Linked DNA regions of Homo sapiens: region 1 is linked to region 2. Evidence: promoter capture Hi-C in 16 types of primary human blood cells and fetal thymus (Javierre and others, 2016). All regions are on one chromosome and are shown on one strand. The core of a region is centred on a gene start or on the middle of the fragment in contact, and the rest is flanking DNA. Distances in the headings are between cores, read along the strand shown. Region 1 overlaps MYH15 (myosin heavy chain 15). Region 2 holds the start of LINC00636 (long intergenic non-protein coding RNA 636).

Evidence for each region. The method cuts DNA at HindIII sites, captures the fragments that hold promoters and counts their contacts. A CHiCAGO score of 5 or more calls a contact.
Region 1: a fragment that was not itself captured here is called in contact with the fragment with the promoter of LINC00636 in region 2 in 6 of 17 cell types (activated CD4 T cells, naive B cells, M0 macrophages and 3 more); the score reaches 5.8 in activated CD4 T cells.

What each region holds. Positions count from the first base shown.
Region 1 is chr3:108,394,002-108,398,196 of GRCh38, reverse strand. MYH15 (myosin heavy chain 15) reads left to right here. Exons shown (of 41, transcript NM_014981.3): 36 at 4,041-4,166. Among named protein-coding and RNA genes, the nearest start is that of HHLA2, 100 kb to the right of the region's middle. The HindIII fragment of the contact is 6,952 bases long and covers 1-4,195 here.
Region 2 is chr3:107,880,761-107,884,822 of GRCh38, reverse strand. It overlaps LINC00636 (long intergenic non-protein coding RNA 636), which reads right to left and starts at 1,618. Exons shown (of 3, transcript NR_015394.1): 1 at 1,517-1,618. The HindIII fragment of the contact is 1,611 bases long and covers 316-1,926 here.

The DNA of each region.
Region 1 (4,195 bases), core at 896-3,395, 510 kb before region 2:
GGGTCTGTTGCTGTCCAAATTGCCACTTTTTATAGGGGTACCAGTCATATTTGATTAAGGTCCACCCTAATGGCCTCATTTTAACTCATTTACCCCCTACCTCCCTTTTTTCCAGCTTCCTTTTAAACAAAATAAGACCCTATTTCCAGATAAGGTCACATTCTGATAAATAAGGGGTTAGGACTTCAACATATCTTTTTGTGTGTGTGTGAGACAAAATTCAACCCATAACAATAAGCCTTATGCCAGAAGAATGGATTGTCAGGGCATCCACAGCCAGGATGCTGGGGAGGGAGGGATGAACATTCCCTAATGTTCCAGAACCACTCCTGCTCCTGGTTCTCCTGCTCTCTCTAAGCCATGTGCTTCCCCAGCATCCCAGGATAAAAACAATGCTCCTGTCTTGGAGCCAGGAAAGCCCTAACAATTCTGAGTGGCTGCTGACAAATATGATACACCGTCTGGACTCTGGCTTCTAATGGAAGGTTATGTAAGTGACACGAAGCAAGAATTCTTAGATCCTTCTCCTTATCCTAGAATCAGAAGAAGCCATAGTTTCTAGGACAAACATCTATAGTAAATGGGTTGTGTGATAAGTGTTTATAGGGCACCCCCACCATAACCTGGACTGGTATGGATGGTATAGACACAGAATGTCTCCACTGTCCTAAAAAAATGAAGATTGAACTAAGCAATTGTAGTACACTGCTAAAAGTATAATGATATAGCAAGCACACCCCTACAGAAAGCCTTCTTTGACAATCCAAGAGTTAGGTAGCTGCACAGTATGCTTCTTCTGAGTCATGAAGGACATGTAAGAAGCCAGCCAGGTAGAGAGGAAAGTCAAGGGCAGAGACATGGGGGCAGGGGGAAGGAGTTTAGGATTCTAAGGGAAATTCACATGCTAGAGTATTCGGTGGATAGCCAGAAGGATCAGAAATCATGCTGAGATAGGTGGGGCCAGGTCACCAGTGACCCTGAGCCTGAGAGTGATGGAGTTTGAATTTTATCTTGCAGCTCATGGAGAGCCACTGAAGAATTTTGAGTAGCTAAGAGTGAAGTTATCAGATTTGCATTTTAGGAAGTTTTACTGTGGTGATTATTGTGAAGGACAGATTAAAGCACCTAGGGGCAGAACTGCTACACTCTGGGGCATTTAGAAACATCTGTGGGATCATTTTAGTTGCCACAGTGACTGGGAAATACCACTGGCATTTAGTGAGTAGGGTCCAGAGATACCAAAACTCCTTCAAGGTGAAGGATAATCCCAAGGAACTGCCCCTTCCAGAATGCCAATGTTCCCCCTACTGAAAAATACTGGATAAAAGAAAGTATAAACCAGAAATGTGCCTGTTGAAAGATGTTGTAATTAGTTTGTGCCTACAGTTTGACTTTTGTGTCCATGTGTATGACACAATCCCGTCTGGGTACCATGTGGTATAGAACAAATAGTCTGTAGGTTATAGATAATTCCCAACAGGCTAACTCAAACATTTTTTTTTTCTCCTTCAAGAAAGTTTAAATACAATGAGTTGGATTCTTATAAAATAGACTACAGACTTTTTTTAAAAAAGTAACTCATCCACTGTCTAGAACAAGGTTTCCCAATCCCTGGGCCACAGACCAGTACAGGTCTGGGGCCTATTAGGAACTGGGCTGCACAGCAGGAGGTGAGCTGCAGGGGAGAGAGCTTTGCCTCCTGTCAGATCAGCAGCAGCACTAGATTCTCATAGGAGTGCAAATGCTCTTATGAACTGCTCATGTGAGAGATGTAGGTTGCATGCTCCTTAGGAGAATCTAATGCCTCATAATCTGAGGTGGAACAGTTTCATCCCCAAACCGTCTCCCCCCAACCCTGCTACCTGGTCTATGGAAAAATTTTCTTCCATGAAACCAAATGGGTTGGGGACCGCTGGTCTATAGTACTTAATTGCTGTTGGTAACAAATCATTTGCCATGCATATCATACATGATAATGCACCAGTGGGATCCAATATGATGCAAAATCACTAGCCTAGAGAGAGATGAGGATCAGCTAGAGAAAAAGCATTCATAGAGAGGAGAGGATTTGGGGAAGAAGAAAATTAGGTAGAGGAGACCTGGTCTCTAGGGCAGAGTTTCTGAAACTTGATGTGTACATATAAGAATCCCTAACACAAAAATGTAAATTCTCAGATCTCACCCCAGATCCACTAAATCAGAAGCTCTGCAATGGGACCTAGAAAGTGAACATGTTCTCAGGTGCTACTGCTCATAGAAAGACTACCCTTTGACCAGCACTGGTCTAGGTGATATTATTCACAAGGACCTCTCCCCAACCTAAACCATGCTGCGGCACCTTGCAGTTACTAGAACATTATCAAGCAAAACATACTGAACCTTTTAGGGAGCCTTCTTAGCTACCTCCTGCATTTCCAGATCTCCAGCCTAGGACTAACATTTGAGGCTAAACTTATCTTTGACTGATTACAGGTGTCTTTTTCAAACTTGAGCTGTGACAATCTAGATTACCTTTCTGCAAAGCACTTCCTAACTCCCTTTCTCCTAAAAAAAAAAAAAAAGAAAGAAAAAAAAAACAAATTAGAGAGTAATTCAGTTTGCAAAGATTTAAACCCTTGTCTCCCTAGCAAATTTTAAAGGATTCTATGTACAAACAAATTAGTATTTGTACTTATACCTTCCTCTACAAAGAAATAGTTTCTATGGAGTCTGTGCTGTGAGCATCCAAAAAACACTTCAGGAAAATACAACTTAATTCCACCCCATCTCTCAGGCCATGGCAGTGGAAATCTAGGAGGTATACAGGGCCTGGCTTTCCATAAGGACAAAAGATGGCAGTCTTGATAAAGATGCTTCATGCCATAGAGAAATGGGGTAGATAGAACCAGTGATGCTGGAATATCATTCTATTTTTTATTTTTCTTTTTTGAGACGGAGTCTCACTCTGTCACTCAGGTTGGAGTGCAATGGTGCAATCTCGGTTCACTGCAACCCCCGCCTCCCAGGCTCAAGCAATCCTCTCACCTCAGCCTCCCGAATAACTGGGACCACAGCTGTATGCCACCACACCCAACTATTTTTGGTAAAAGTTTTGGTAGAGACGGGGTTTCACCATGTTGCCCAGGCTGGTCTCAAACTCCTGAGCTCAGGAGATTCACCCCCGTCAGCCTCCCAAAGTGCTAGGATTACAGGCATGGGCCACCACACCTGGCCTGGAGTATCCTTCTATTTCCAAGTCTTCATCCTGCTACTGAGAAAGGCACTAGCCAGAGGCAAGTGAATGTGAAACGGATAAAGTGAAAGGAGAAATAAAAAAATAGAAAGCCTATGCCTTTTATATACACTGCGAGTTTTCACACCCTCAGAAAAGCTGGGCTTCAAACACAGACCAAATAGCAGCAAAAGGATATTTGGCCTCTAGTGTCACAACTCAGGAAGGAAAGAATTAGGGCAGCACCAACCACAGAACACAAAGAATCCTCCGTGGTAATGAGGGTACCTAAGGGCTGGAGGAGGCTTATTCTGAACTACTTTCCCCACCTCCTCACTGTAAAGTAAGATAGGAAGGGAAGTACAAAAAGAAGAGGAATGATTTTTTTTGTTTGTTTCTGGAGCAGCATACTTGGAGTTACAATTTTTATTCCCCAACCTCTGCTCCTCAGATGTCTGCAACTGACCCCAACTTCTGCTCTAGAACACTTGTTTCTACCACATCCAAAAGCAAGTGGCAGAGAAACATTTCCTCAACCCATTGAAAACCAAACACGTTTGGGGCTTGTAGGTTATCTAGATACCCTTCTTCCCTTCTGATTCAGGCTGCCATCTCTTTAGTCTTGAACTTCTAATGGGTGAAATCCCTTCCATTCAAGTTTGATGGCAAAAGCCTTTCGGGATTGGGAGCACTGCTTAAGGGACTATGGCTCACTATAATAAAATTTGCTTCTGGCCAGAGCTGACTCCCATTGCATGTCCTGAACAGACCAGCTTGCATTTGCATTGCTGGTTTTTACTTGCCTAATAGGAATGCTGCTTTTCTTTAGAACACAAGCCTCCTCAGCCAGAAGAAGAAACTGGAGGCTGATGTTGCCCGGATGCAGAAAGAAGCTGAAGAGGTGGTGCAGGAGTGTCAAAATGCAGAAGAGAAGGCCAAGAAGGCAGCCATTGAGGTGGGTCCCTTGACCACGTACTCAATCCT
Region 2 (4,062 bases), core at 369-2,868:
TTAGTGTAGGTGATTTTTGTATATGTCTTGGCTCTCTCTACTAGAATGATAACAACTTAAGAGCAGAAAAGATGTTTTTGTTCTCCAAAAATTACTTTGGGATAGAGCTGAGACACACAAAAAAAGAGGGTGCTGAATTTCTTATGTCAAATCAGGCAGCAAAGATGTAAGTTACAATATAGCTAGAGAATTCAGATTCCATCTATGGAAATCAAATAATACAAAGTTGAAAATGTAGGTAAAGATGAAACTTGACAGACACATGATAAATTGAGTTGTGAAACTAAATTGTATCCCAGTTGAGATCTACAAGCTTGGAGTGTGCCAGGGATGAAGCAACTAAAACCAGATTATAGGAGGAGACTTGGAAGGTATTATTTGGTGGCTTAGGAAGTACCATTCTTTAAGTAACACCTAGATAGTGTCCCCAGGCCACAGTCCCTACCCCAACCTGAGTTGGTAACCTTCTGATGATCCCAAGTTTTACACAAGTAACCACAGCAGGCCCTTGATGATGGTTACTTGGGTAACCATCCTCTTAGTTGGGTAACTAAGTGTCCAACTCCAGGAAGTATAGATTTAAGTGGAATTGATTTTTGCATGTGTAAGCTATTTTATAGTCATTGTGTTGCTTCATATATGCTTTATCTGCTTTAAGATGTTTGAAATGGATAAGAGAATCTGCTTTATTAAATTTGTCTAATTTATTAAATTTATTAGATTTTCACAAAGATTGCAAATATCTTGCATGTTAGACTTGTAAGTTTGCTTAATAGGTGTTTGAATTATTTGGGAGAACTGGTTTTCAAATTGGTAATAATTGTTTGAAATGTCTAAAAATATCTAGTTAATAAAGTTTCTATATACTGTTAACATTTGAGAGATCTGATCCATAAAATTTATAAACTAATTGAGCATTAATTAAATAACAAATGAAGTTAAGTGCTTAAAATTCTTACACCATTATTAGATTTGCAAATATAGCAACAAGATTTGTGAGTTAAAAGTAAAGGCTTATAAAAACTAAGTTATAAAATTTATACCTTTTGTCAGTTCAACATTAACACAATCATAAGAAACTATCAGCATTAACTTCTGTGCAAGAAAAAAAGTCACATTTTGGGAACTAAAAACCCAATTACCATTATTAAACACTGAAGAGCAATATAACTGAAATGGAGATGAATCATCATAGCTATCATTTATTAGTTCCAACCACATAACAGTTCTGTGATAAGCTCTGCATTTGTGAGTTTGTTCATTTGTTTGTTTTTGAAGGTCAGAGATAATATAACTAAAGTATCTTGCCTCTTAAGTATATGTTAAACTGAACTGACAATCTTTTTAAATCTAAAAATATTACTTCACATACCAATCACAGTTCCTTTGCTCACAGGTAACAGAAAATCGGTCTAACTGTTTAAATCATAATAACAGCAACAACAGTAATAATATAAAGATTTTGTGGTTCAAGTAATTTAAGAAACCCAGAAATGGAAGGAGGTGTACTACTTACTTGGATCTCCCTTCAAAAAAGAACAAACTATCCACGTGTGCAGGATGCCGGTAACTGACAGCCGCCAGCCAGTGGGCATTAAGGGTCCTCTACAGTGTTGAGTTGGAACAACAGTGTTGAGCTTTCTCGACAGCCCTGGCGAATAAGTACAGTGGGAGTACTAGTGTCTGGGCATTTCCGCCCATTGTCATACTCTTCCAACAAGCAGCTTTTGCTCTAGATCTCCCTTTGGTGCTGGCAGAGACTTTATGAAATCTGCATCACAGTTTGAGGCCCTTCCTGCCCAATCCTGCGGGGTTTCCCTTTGTTTTCACAGGTGTCAGGCCTGGATCAAGGTCTGAAGGGTTTTGCTGCCCATATATTTCCTGTGCCTTGCTTTTATCTTTCACAAACATTACCTCAATAAAGCTTGGACACTGGTAATTCCATCTCCATATCTGCTTACCAGATGACCCTTCAGGTAAGCTTGCTCCAGCAGTTTAATGATGTCCCAGGACCGACTTCCTTTCTGTGTCTCAGCCTTCCCCAGTGGCAGAATAGCCCTAAAACTATTTTGATAGCTTCACCATATCAACATAGTTACCAGAACAACTGGGGTGGTTGCTTCCTGATTCACAACCAGTGGATGAAGGGAGCATCTTTTTTTAGCATCCATGAAAGACAGAATAATTTTATTCTCCAGATGCTCCCCATCAAACATCTTCTCTCTTTTTGACAAAGTTTGGATCATAATGCCATCCCAACCACTGTAACTAGGGCCCATCCCTGGAGCTGCTGTGAGATTAGTCCCAACCAATCTGCATGTCCCCATCAGAAAGGGAACAGAGAGAATGAATGCTGGGGAGGCAATCACTAAATTTCCATGACTACGAACATAAGCATCCTCAAACAATATCACACCACGGAATTAGTCTCATGAAGACACCGCTGCTACTAACAATGTGTATAGAAATTGGAGCATAAACCACTAAGAATACAGGCTGTAGAGGCCAGAAACCATTGGAACTGCACCGCTGCAGTTTCTGGAAGCTGAATGTCCTGTTGCTTCTGTTCCCGGTGTTGCCAGAGTAGACTCTGTAGAGTTCTTCCTTCTTCAAGTCACTGTATTTAATTCAAACACGAGCTGGTGCATCCTGCAGGCAGAGCCTACAGCTTGAGCCAATGTACTGGTTTCAGGAGAAGCAAGGGAGAAACTGTCTATTTCATCCCAGAGTGGGAGAATGTCACCTGTGGCATCACATGCAGAAGATTCCAGATTCTGGATTCTTTTGCGTTTGCTTTAGTTCTGCTAAAGTCTCCTGTGTATGATCCTCAGAAAGACATATGAGGGTTTTCCTCAGAACCTAAATTCTGTGAGTAAAGAATGCACTAGTGCTGAAACATTTGGGGCAAGAACAAGCATCAGTCACAACCGTCAACAATCACTCTCAGTTTTAACTTCTTTGGGGAAGCTGGTTACCGTACTTAAAACACTTGTATTCCATTTTGTTTTGTTAGTAAGACAAAAATGTATTGCCTTTATTAATACCAAACCCGTAGACTTTATACAGAATAGTTGCACTATTACCTCACTATGCCTATAAACATTCATCCTGGAAAGATTAAATTTAGACCAGCAAATGTTTATTCAGCTCATAATAAATGCAAGACCTTGTGCTAGGCGCTGGGAGATGACAAATTTGTCTTAAATTGTCACTGTGGTGACTACTTAGTCATTATTTTAATTCCTTCATCATGGAAAAATTGGGTATTAACTATTCATGATCTACTTTTATATTTCACTGTCAATTTTCCATTATTTCCAATTCTACAGAACAGCTGCATAATCTTCACAATACATTTTTAGAGGTTAATCTTACTATAATTTCTCTTTTGTTCATATCACAAATATCATTTTGGAATCCAAGGCAATAGATTATTTGAATAGAAAATGCAGCTATTAAAGATGTAAATTATTCTTATACTCAAGTTATTACTATTATTTTTGTGACAAAGGAATGTTAGAAATTCACAAATGTTTGTGTATGTTTTAAGGGGATATACTGTTTATGCTTGCGTTTGATGCTAACATATTTAGTAAGTGTCAACAGCAGAGAAGCCTTATAAGAAAACATTGACCAGAGCTCTATTTTAATGCTACATTTGGCACAATCCTATACTATTTGAACTGGATAAAAAGGTAAAGGTCAGGACACATCTTTGAACTGAGCTTTGAATTGACTTTCATCTCCATATATTTGTCACTTTGTGACCCACATCAGTTTTTCCATATTGATTCTATATAGCCTTTTCATGTTATACTCGAATCTTTTCATTTCTCCATCTGAAACCAAATCTACCACATTTGATCACAGGGGTGATGAGGCTATACTTTTTACTTTTATTTTCATGGTGGTTAGCCATTACCTGGGTAAAGTTAGTAGTAACTACAGAAGAGGTAACAGTTAAGGCCTGCTTCTCTATAGTAAAACAGCCTGGGCCAGGCCTGGTGGCTCATGCCTGTAATCCCAGCACTTTGGTAGGCCGAGGCGGGTGGATCATGAGGT